3 separate regions of the Homo sapiens genome follow, and all the other regions are linked to region 1. The links are contacts of gene promoters, found by promoter capture Hi-C in human tissues and cell types (Jung and others, 2019). All regions are on one chromosome and are shown on one strand. Each heading gives the region's core, a stretch centred on a gene start or on the middle of the fragment in contact. The rest is flanking DNA. Distances are from core to core; before and after follow the strand shown. Region 1 holds the start of CPSF4L (cleavage and polyadenylation specific factor 4 like). Region 2 overlaps SDK2 (sidekick cell adhesion molecule 2). Region 3 overlaps SDK2 (sidekick cell adhesion molecule 2).

The links. The method cuts DNA at HindIII sites, captures the fragments that hold promoters and counts their contacts. A contact is called where the count stands out against the background at its distance.
Region 2: a fragment that was not itself captured here is called in contact with the fragment with the promoter of CPSF4L in region 1 in 1 of the 25 tissues and cell types used here (spleen).
Region 3: a contact is called between a fragment that was not itself captured here and the fragment with the promoter of CPSF4L in region 1, in 2 of the 25 tissues and cell types used here (lymphoblastoid cells and spleen).

Annotation. Positions count from the first base shown.
Region 1 is chr17:73,260,189-73,263,780 of GRCh38, forward strand. It overlaps CPSF4L (cleavage and polyadenylation specific factor 4 like), which reads right to left and starts at 1,692. Exons shown (of 6, transcript NM_001129885.1): 1 at 1,528-1,692; 2 at 745-795. The coding sequence starts at 1,630. The HindIII fragment of the contact is 16,084 bases long and covers 1-3,592 here.
Region 2 is chr17:73,447,692-73,451,283 of GRCh38, forward strand. SDK2 (sidekick cell adhesion molecule 2) reads right to left here. Exons shown (of 45, transcript NM_001144952.2): 5 at 1-57. Among named protein-coding and RNA genes, the nearest start is that of SDK2-AS1, 64 kb to the right of the region's middle. The HindIII fragment of the contact is 3,268 bases long and covers 1-3,197 here.
Region 3 is chr17:73,399,882-73,403,473 of GRCh38, forward strand. SDK2 (sidekick cell adhesion molecule 2) reads right to left here. Exons shown (of 45, transcript NM_001144952.2): 19 at 2,065-2,260; 20 at 1,773-1,871; 21 at 1,139-1,330. Among named protein-coding and RNA genes, the nearest start is that of CDC42EP4, 90 kb to the left of the region's middle. RefSeq lists enhancers at 805-1,309, 1,310-1,813. The HindIII fragment of the contact is 9,787 bases long and covers 1-3,592 here.

The DNA of each region.
Region 1 (3,592 bases), core at 442-2,941:
TCAGAGCAGGGGACTGGGGGAGAAGGATGCCTCTCTTCTAGCTGGGAGGAAATCAAGAAAAACATTAAGAAGCTGGAGCCTCCTGGGAATGCACAGGCCAAAGCTCAGACACACGCCCATCCCAGCAAGGCAGAAAGAAAAAAATACCCCTTTCCAGGCAGCCTGGTTACCCTGATGCGAACTGCAAACTATGAAGACTGCTGCTGAGGCGGGAAAATCTTAGGGGAGGGGCAGGCTGCTCGGTGGATCCAACCACTTATCCTTTGTCTACCTGTAAGTCTAAAATTCTGCTCCATGGCCGGGCATGGTGGCTCACGCCTGTAATCCCAGCACTTTGGGAGGCCCAGGCAGGTGGATCACCTGAGGTGAGGAGTTTGAGACCCGCCTGGCCAACATGACAAAACTCCATCTCTACTAAAAATGCAAAAATTAGCCGGGCTTGGTGGCATGCACCTGTAGTTCCAGTTACTCGGGAGGCTGAGGAAGGAGAATCGCTTGAACCCAGGAGGCAGAGGTTGCAGTGAGTTGAGATCACGCCAGATCACTCTAGCCTGGGCAACAGAGCGAGATTCCATCTAAAAATAAATAAATAAAATAAAAATAAAATTCCGTTCCATCCCAATTTTCCCTCCCCAGGTGCAAATTCGACACCCTATCCCAGGCCAGGCAGAGCCCCTGCTGGGTGTAGCTCAGACAGACCCTACACTCACCCAGCTTGGGGCCCAGGCCTGTCTGCTAACTCACCTTTCTCACAGAGCCCTTTAGTGAAGAAGTTGCACACAGCTGAGGCCGACTCTGGAAGGAGAAGAGGGAACGGAGAAGGTAGCTTCCCCAGAGGCTGCAGCTGTTCCGGAAGCCTCCACCTCCATCGGCATGTCCCACCTAGACCTCCCCCAGGCTCTGGCCTATGGGATCCCAAATCTGGGCCCTGTAGAGGTTAACCTGCAGAGCCAGCCAGCAGACCTCAACCCTTAACCCCCCAACTCTGAAACAGAGGAGCTCGAGGGGCTCAAGCCTGGCCCAGGAGCTCGGGAGGCCAGTGTGGCTTCTCTCAATTCACCGTCTCTCTGTGCCTCTCTTTCTCAGTCTGGAAAATGGGTTGCCCCGAAGCCACAGAAGAGAGAGACAGAGAAGGGGCGGTCGCATCAGGGAGTTGAGCAGAGAGGCCTGTAGAGAAGGAAGGGGGAGGGAGGCTGGGCGTGGTGGCTCATGCCTGTAATCCCAGCACTTTGGGAGGCCAAGGCGGGCGGATCACGAGGTCAGGAGATTGAGACCATCCTGGCTAACATGGTGAAACCCGGTCTCTACTAAAAATACAAAAAATCAGCTGGGCGTGGTGGCGGGCGCCTGTAGTCCCAGCTCCTCGGGAGGCTGAGGCAGGAGAATGGCGTGAACCCAGGAGGCAGAGCTTGCAATGAGCCGAGATTGTGCCACTACACTCCAGCCTGGGCTACAGAGCGAGACTCCGTCTCAAAGAAAAAAAAACAGAGAAGGTAGGGGAGGGAAAGTGGCCCCACCCTCACTCACTGTCCATGCCCTGGAAAGGCAGGAGCCCAGTGCCCTTCTGCATCTCGACATCCTTCTCGAAGGCAAAGGTGAACCGCTCTAGCCCCGCAATGACCTCTTGCATCTTCCGTCTCCTGCTGGGGCTGCGGAAGCTGCTGGAACCCAGGCAGGTGGGCCCAATATAGCTCATCAGAGGCCCTTAAGGGGCCAGCGCCCAATGCCTCCCCCTTCACCCCAGGGTGCCAGTGGCCAGGTGACTGCAGGGGACGCTCCAGCCTGGGCTGTACAGGAGCAGGGCCCAGCTGCCTCACCCGGCCCACCCAGTGCAGGGGCAGACACCCCAGGGCCCCTCACCCCCACACTGTGTACACAAGGCTCACTCGGATAGGGAGGGATTCGCAGAGCCCCACAAACTGCTTATCTTTGCATGTTACCGAACACAAACGTGGCGTGCACACAGACATTACCAAACCTGGGCTCATACTTTGTCCATGAAGACACAGCCACAGGTTAGCAAAGAGTTGCACAAACCAACCGCAGCAAGGCTGTTATTCTGCCAGAGCTGGGGGTGGTGGGGGTTTGCAGAGGGAGGGAGCCGTCCCACCTCCCCGCTTCTTCCCATGAGGGAAGGGGTCTCCCTCTGGGGCCCCTGACACCCCTTTTCTGGCCTGAGTGACAAGCCCCGAGTGAGCTCTTCGTGGGAGACAGGGAAAAAGGAATGAAGAGGAGAGGAACTGAAACAGTTGGATGAATGGCGCTTTGTTTACCTCGCACACAATCGCCAGCTTGGCGGGAGGGCGGAACCGACCAAGGCCAGGGCGGCCTCCCAGCCAGGATTCCACAGGGCCACCCAGTGCCACCCCACCCCTGAGAAAGTGCTTTATAAATGAAATCTCTATGCAAATGTTGTTTTATTATTATTACACCACCCCTGCCTGCAGGGCTGGGGACATCTGACAATGCTTTCAAAGGAGCATGTTAGGGCTCTAATTAGACCAGGTTCCCCCTCCCCCTGCTCTGGCCCCAAACTGGCCTTGCCTCTAACTAGAGCTGCTGTTCTCAGTCACATTGGCTTTTAATGCCCATAGAACCAGAACCCATACGCCCTCCTTTCTGGGTGCCCAAACCCAGCAGGGAGAGGTGGGCAGCCCCGCAGGCTCTCAGCTGGGCCAACATGAACTAGCCTGCTGGCTGTTGTTCCCCGTGGCTGTTGCTCCTAGATCTGTTCTTTTGAACTCCAGATCAGAAAAGAAAATAGCTGGAGAGATAGACACCTGGAGCCGAGGTGGGACTGGGAGGAGCAGGGACGAGATCCAAGAGTTTCCAGAAGCTCAGGCCTCTGACTGCATCCTGGGAGAGGCAGAGGGACCCAGCTCCAGGGCTAGAGGGTGGGGCCAAGGGGGTCCCTGGGGTAGAAACCCTGGCTTCTCTTGGCCTTAGTTGTATGCGTTGATTAGTAGTCCCAAGAATGCATTCATCTGTCAACACAGGCTCATTAAAGGCTCACAGAAGCCTGGCAGCGCAGGCAGGACTGATGAGGGAATCAAAGCCCAGGGAGGCCAAGACCACATGGTTTGGGAGGCGCTATGGATGGGGTTCACATCTAGGTCTCTTGATGACTTCCTTCCCTAAACATCCCTGAGCATCTCTGCACTAGGGCCACGTCCCTATCCTCAGAGATGGCCCCATCAAGGAGGGGACATTAGCCATTCACACAATAATGCGATGGAGGCATGAGGGGCCCAGCAGGGCAGGAAGGGGTAGCAGGCAGAGCTCTCTCAATGGAGAGTCATGATGATGGGGAGAGAATGTTCTGGAAGAAGGCCAGCAGTATGAAGGTTGGGGCATGGAGCAATGTGAAGGCTGAGGAGGCGCTCAAGGGTTTGGTTTGGCAGAAGCGGGGGTAAAGAGGTGGAATGGGGGCAATGAGGCTTAAGAGCTGAGAAGGGACCCAACTCTGGGGGGCCTGCTGGGGCCAGCTTTGGGGGGAAGTGATCGTGAAGGCAGCAGAGCCACCACAGGGCTCTGAGAACTGTACATGGCTCTCTGAGGGATGGTCGGGGGAAGACTGGACAGGGGCTGCTTA
Region 2 (3,592 bases), core at 314-2,813, 190 kb after region 1:
CCTGCGTCAGGGGCCACCGTTGACAGGATGACAAGGGTGTTCTCCAGCGTGATGGCTCTGGGAAGAGGAAAAGGATTCCTCTGACAGGGGCCTAAGGGGCTCTGAACCTCCAGGGAGTGGGAGTGGAAACCCTAAGGGGGAAGCCCGACCATATCTCCCAGTCCCCAGCCTCCCAGGGCCCCTCCTGCCACCCCCTCCCCAACCTCTTACTGCCTACATCCCGCCACGTTTAGTTTGCAGAGAATGCTAAACACGGTGCTGATGCTGTCAACCAGACCCAGAGACAGCACGTTCATGCCCAGACGCCGAGGCCACCCAAAGGAAGCTTCCCTGGCCCCTACCCCAAGACTGGGCAAGGGGCTTCCAGGTATCCCCTTGGAATTCTGCCCTTTCCCAGGTCACAGCCTCCATGGCTGTGTGTGGTTATTTCTGCATGATGTACATCCAGACACTGAAGAAATGTTCTCAGCATGGATTAGTGAATGTCGGTGAATGAATAAGTAAATGACAAATGAATGCTAATGAATTTAGAAATGCAGGGCCATTCCAGAGTCCATGCCTTAACCCTAATCCTAAATCTGTTCAGGATTGATGGACTCAAAGGCCACAGGTCACCTGGTGACATCAACTTCTGGAAGTCCTGTCTCCCTTCAGTCCCCTTTCTGGGTATCAGTTTCTACCTCTTTTTTTTTTGAGACAGTCTCGATCTGTTGCCCAGGCTGGAGTACAGTGGCATGATCTTGGCTCACTGCAGCCTCTGCCTCCCGGGTTCAAGCGATTCTCCTGCCTCAGCCTCCCGAGTAGCTAGGACTACAGGTGCGCGCCACTACCCCTGGCTAATTTTTTGTATTTTTAGTAGGGACAGGGTTTCACTTTGTTAGCCAGGATGGTCTCGATCTCCTGACCTTGTGATCTGCCCGCCTTGGCCTCCGAAAGTGTTGGGATTACAGGCGTGAGCCACTGTGCCCAGTCTTTTTTTTTTTTTTGAGACAGAGTTTTGCTCTTGTTACCCAGGCTGAAGTGCAATGGTACGATCTTGGCTTACTGCAACCTCCGCCTTCCCGGTTCAAGTGATTTTCCTGCCTCAGCCTCCTGAGTAGCTGGGATTACAGGTGCATGCCACCACACCCGGCTAATTCTTATATTTTTAGTAAAGACAGGGTTTTGCTATGTTGGCCAGGCTGGTCTCAAACTCCTGACCTCAAGTGATCTGCCTGCCTTGGCCTCTCAAAGTACTGGGATTACAGGTGTGAGCCACTGTACCCAGCTGGAGTTTCTACCTCTTTGAAGCTCATAACCAAGAGTGGGACTAGGTGGGCTGGTTAGGAGGGAAAAAGAGGCTGGTGTGTTTTGGGGTGTGGTGATGGGCTGTTTACCTCAGCTGGTTTCCTTTGCTGGGATCCCATCATGCAGCCCCTTCTCAGGCCAGGTCTTCTGGCAGGGAAAAGGGGCTTGTCCAAGCAGGAAGCTGGAGGCTCCATGGAATGTGGGTGCAATGGAGCCAGAAGCGCCACCCACACCGGCTCTTCCTCCCTCCACCCATTCTCCCAATGACAAACAAAGCCATTAGTTTGTCAAGTATATCTCTGGATTTTAATGCGATGGGCCTGAGACAGCTGTTAAACATCCTTAATGTTAGTTTAACAAGGACAAATCCAGTTGAATTCTTTTCAAATTTTCCCATTAGGTGAATGTTACAGAGTTTTAAACAGGCTCTCAAATAAACATCCCCACTAATGCTTCTCCAGCCCAGCACTCTCCCAGCCCGGCTGTGCTGGTTTTCGCCCCACTCTCTCCTGGTTTTGGTGCTTCACATGCTGAGAATCACACTCTTGGCACAGCTCTGGGAAGCAGGAAGCCAAGCCCTCCTGCCCCCAATTCCTGGGTACCCTAATGATGCCCCCCCACCTCTTTTTTTTTTTTTTTTTTTTTTTCTGGAGAGCTCTTGGCTGGGCACAGTGGCTCACGCCTGTAATCCCAGCATTTTGGGAGGCTGAAGTAGGTGGATCACCTGAGGTCGGGGGTTCGAGACCATACTGACCAATATGGAGAAACCCTGTCTCTACTAAAAATACAAAATTAGCCGGGTGTGGTGGTGGTGCATGCCTGTAATCCCAGCTACTCGGGAGGCTGAGGCAGGAAAATCGCTTGAACCTGGGAGGCAGAGGTTGCGGCCAGCCGAGGTCGCACCGTTGCACTCCAGCCTGAGCAACAGAGCGAAACTCCATCTCAAAAAAACAAAACAAACAAACAAACAAAAAAACAAGAAACAAAAAACAGGAGAGTCCTTTTAACCTCCAGCTAATGAGGCAATAGGAGGTGGGGCCAGAGCCAGGCGAAAATATTTCAAAAGCTTAAAATAAGACAGGGATAGTGGTCATTTTCCCACCTGAGAGTTTCCTGCAGGGACTTGTCCTTAGGTATAGCATGTGAGGGTGGCTGAGAGTTGGAGGAGGGGTCCTCCCCGTGCAGGGCTCTGGCTGGGGCACGGGGTGAGCTCTGGAATGGAGCTCTGGCCCTAGCCTCTAAAGGGCATGCAGCTTCCTCCTTGCTGGGCCTCAGTTTCCTCCTCTGTGCAGGGGTGGAAGCAGGTATTCTGTGAGATTTCTTCCAGCCCAGAGGTTGAAGGATTCTGATTCCTGTTGCTGCTTCTGTTGTTTCCTCATTAGGCCCAAGATAGCCCTGCAGCCCGCCACCTGTCTCTTCCCACCCCGCAGACCGGGACATGGCCAGCTTCAGGGCTGACAGGATTTTCATGAGCACTATGTGCCGGGACCATGCCGGCCCAGCTCCCCCAGCCACGCCACATCCATGACTATCATAGAAGCAGCTTCAAGCCTCCAGTGGGCACACTGGGCACAGCTTGGCCCACGTTCCAGTTCACCCACCTGTCTTAGGACCCTTTTGGTCTCCAAGAAGGCTCCCACCTCCAATTTCATCTCTTTCTTGATCAGGAAGGCTCCTTTCACTGTATTTTGTCTATATCATGATCAAGCTTTCTGGGTCAGTGGTTCTCAACCAGGGTTGACTTTGCCCTCCAGGGATGACAATGTCTGGACAACTTTTGGTTGCCAGCTCGGGGAGCGCCACTAACAATAGGGGTCAAGGCCGGGGGTGTTGTTAAGCACGCATCCCGTGGTGCACAGGAAGGCCCTCACAGGGAAGAGTGATCAGGCCCCAGATGTCAAGAGCGCCATGCCTGACATGGTCTGTCCTAGGTAGAGTGTATATTAAGATGGCAGAGATGGCCGCTGCCCACCTCAGTCTCAGGCTTCCCTTGTGTCATGGACTGCAGTGGCTGGGAAGCCAGAGACAGACTTTGCATCTCTGCTTGCATCCAGGTGGGGCAGTGAGGCTGAACTAGTGGGATATGGAGGAAGGGATGTGCACCGTTGCTAAGCTTGGACCATGAGCGCCTCCTGCGCGATCCTCATGTCTGCCCCCTTTCTCTCTGGCAGAGCAGGACAACTTGGAAGGTTGTGTGCTGATGATGGCAAAACTCCTGCCTCTCATCATGGTAGGACTTTAAATGGGGCTGGGCACGGTGGCTCATGCCTGTCATCCCAGCAGTTTGGGAGGCTGAGGCAGGTGG
Region 3 (3,592 bases), core at 411-2,910, 140 kb after region 1:
AAGTTATCCAACTCTCTGTGCCTCCATGTCCTCCTTGGTAATGAAGAGGATAATAGCAACACCTCCCTCAGGGTTGTTGTGAGGATTAAATGAGTCAACGTGAGCAAAGCTCCCAGCACCATGCCCCGTGAACACTACATACCTATTTGCCAGCATGGCTGTAATTATCACTGGGCTTTGGCTGAGACTCAGGCAGCCCAGCCATCTACGCAGCAGGTGGAGGGATGCTGGCAGGTCAAACAAGCACTGCCTGACTGATCTGGATGGGACCACATGGTTATCTGGTCCAACTTCCCATATATACAGATGGGGAAACTGAGGCACAGAGGGGACACAGAACTTGCTCAAGGTTGTAGGGCTTGGCAGAAGCAGAGCTGAGAGTGGACCTCGGCTTGCTCTCTGTGCCAGGCCTAGGAGTAGCCCCACCGTGCTCTGCCACCTCCCAACCAACCCTTCCACACGCTGGAATCCAAGGTGGACCCTCTGGGCGACAGTGGGAAATTTTCCCCTGAATCACAGATACCATTGCCTGGTGTGGAATCTGGTGAGAAATGGGTGAAGGGAGGGACTGGTGGGGAAATGAGACAAGGCAGGGGGCCTCTGCTTTTCTGAGAGCTGTGGGAGGATGCAGCAGGGAGCCAGGGGAGCCCCTGTCCAGAGACCTGGGATCCCAGGGATTCCGCCTGCTCTGAGGGGACCCAGACCCACACAGCACAAGGGAAGGGGAGAGCCTGTGGGAAGAACGCTGGTATTCCTGAAAGACAAGGGGCCTCTTTTTATTTTTTTTTTTGAGACGCGATGTGGCCCTGTCACCCAGACTGGAGTGCAGTGGTGTGATCTCGGCTCGCTGCAACCTCTACCTCCTGGGTTCAAGCGATCTTCCATCCTCAGCCTCCCAACTAACTGGGATCACAAGCATGCACCACCACAGCTGGCTAATTTTTGTATTTTTAGTAGGGTTTTACCACGTTGGCCAGGCTGGTCTCGAACTCCTGACCTCAAGTGATACGCCTGCCTCAGCCTCCCAAGGTGCTGGGACTACAGGCATGAGCCACCACGCCCAGCCGACAAGGGGCCTCTTGAATGGGACGCTGCTCAGGAGAACTCAAAGAGTCCTGCCTTGAGAGTGGGCACTTACCTGGGGGCACCCCAGAGGAGATGGTGGAGGCGGACACTTGGCCCTGGCCCTTTGAGGTCATGGCGGCCACCTCGATGGTGTAGGTGGTGAGCGCGGTGAGGCCCGTGACACGGTACTCCAGGGTCACGTTGGGCAGGTAGTGGGTCACACGGGTGTTGGTTCGATTGTACTCCTCCCAGGAGATCCGGTACCCTGGGGAGAGCCGCCGTGTTGGCATGAGCTTGGCTGTGATCACAAGTTGGCCTGACCCACTACTCCACTTCTCACTTCTCCACTAGGCTGGCAATTAGATCCACGCTGGGAGCAATGGGGCCAAGGGAGGTGGGAGCTGTTGGCATCATGCCCTGGGTCTCAGGTGTCGCCTCAGTGGGATGCCAGCACTTTAGGGAATTGCAGGGGACATAGTGAGTCATCATGGCAGCCACTGAGATCTGTGGCAGAAGGTGTGGGGCTGCAGACTCTGGGATGTGTTATGAAGTGGAGGTGCCAAGAGCCTCCTGTGAGTGGTTTCTAAGAAAGCATGGGTTGGCTTCAAGAGTTTGGGTGAAAAGTAGCTCAAAGGCAGGGGATGGACCAGCTCTGACCTTTCCCAGCCCTGTCCTGCCCTCTGGTTCAGAAACACTGCAGTGCCTACCTGTGAGGATGCCATTTTTCTCTCCCGGCTCTTGCCAGCTGACCTTCAGCGATGTGTCCAGGATCTCACTGAAGCTCAGGTGTCCCACGGGCCCAGGCACTGCACCCCAAAAGGAACCCCCACCCCCCAAGGCCAGTTAGAGCCAGAGAGAGACCACCATCTGTGAGATAGCCTGTGGTAATCTGGGGGTATCTCAGCCTGGGAGACAAGCCTGGGCCACCCTTCTGCCTGGGGCGCCCAGCCTGGCCTTGGGCGGGGGGGGGCAGAAAGAGCAGGGCTGGGGGGTGCCTACCATCCTCATGGGTGCGCACCAGCTGCGGGGTGCTGCGTGGCCCGTCCCCGGGGGTGGTGAAACACAGCACTGAGGTGAAGTACTCGGTGAACTTCTTCAGGCCAGACACGAAGCCCACGTGGATGCTGTCTTGAAAGTTAGGCCGGGCGGTCACCATGGTAACCTCCTCTTCCTGTTCCGGCTCCCAGGCGATCAGCTGCGGAGAGGCGAGCAAGTCACACAGGGCAGCAGGAAGGTTCCAGAGGAGGCCAAGCCCTCTCCCACAGGCTGGGCCAATCAACAGATGGTGTCCGGGGACCGGAGTCCCTGTGGTGCCTCCTCCGAGGGAAGGGACAGGCAGTGCAGGGAACCTGCGGGGTACTGGGGTTCACTTTGGGGCGCTTCTCCACTTCTTGAGCCACTGACTTTATGCAAAGCACCGTGCTGGGTGCTTCCCAGGAATCGCCTCGTACTCAATTCTCACAGAGACCCAGGAGGGAGGCATTTCACCAGGAACAGCTGCATAATTTGCAGGCTCAGTGCAAAATGAAAAATTTAGCCCTTGTTCAAAAACGACTAAGAATTTTAAGATGATAGCATCAGAGCATTTAACTAAGTGTGGGGTCCTTCCAAACGTGGGGCCCTGGACGACTGCACAGGTGGCACACCCATGAAGCCGGCCCTGTATTCCTTTTTTGAGATGGGGTCTCACTATGCTGTCCAGGCTGGAGTACAGCGGCATGATCACAGCTCACTGCAGCCTCAACCTCCTGGGCTAAAGCAGTCCTCCCACCTCAGCCTCCCAAAGTGCTGGGATTATAGGTGTAAGCCACTATGCTCGGCCCAGCCCTGTATTTTATTTTATTATTTATTTATTTATTTTTATTTTTTGAGACAGAGTCTTACTTTGTCGCCCAGGCTGCAGTACAGTGGCAAGATCTAGGCTCACTGCAACCTCTGCCTCCCGGGTTCAAGTGATTCTCCTGTCTCAGCCTCCAGAGTAGATGGGATTACAGACATGCACCACCATGCCCGGCTAATTTTTGTATTTTTAGTAGAGATGGGGGTTTCACCATGTTGGCCAGGCTGGTCTCGAACTCCTGATCTCAAGTGATCCGCCCGCCTCGGCCTCCCAAAGTGCTGGGATTACAGGCATGAGCCGCTGTGCCCAGCCCAACCCTGTATTTTACAGATGAGGAAACTGAGGCTCAAAGAGGCTCACACAGGTAGGGGGAAGCTGGTTCTGGGATTCCAAGCCCTGAGCTCCTACATCTTGCCCCATGTGAGCTGGGGCAGCTTCGTCTTTGGAGCTCTCCAAGGGTTACTTCCTACAGAGCTGGGAACTTCAGTTTGTGGGTAACTATTATCCTCTTACACTCCTTCTAAGTTGGGATTTCCATCTTAAATATCAAGTAGAGGCGGGGCATCGGCAAGAAAGTCCCATCTGGAAATCCCTCAAGTTCTTGCTCATCTCCCCTCTGCAGATCACACCTGGCCCCCGCCCCCTCCCGCCTGTCTCGCCTCCTGCTCTCACCTCACGCTCCTGTTT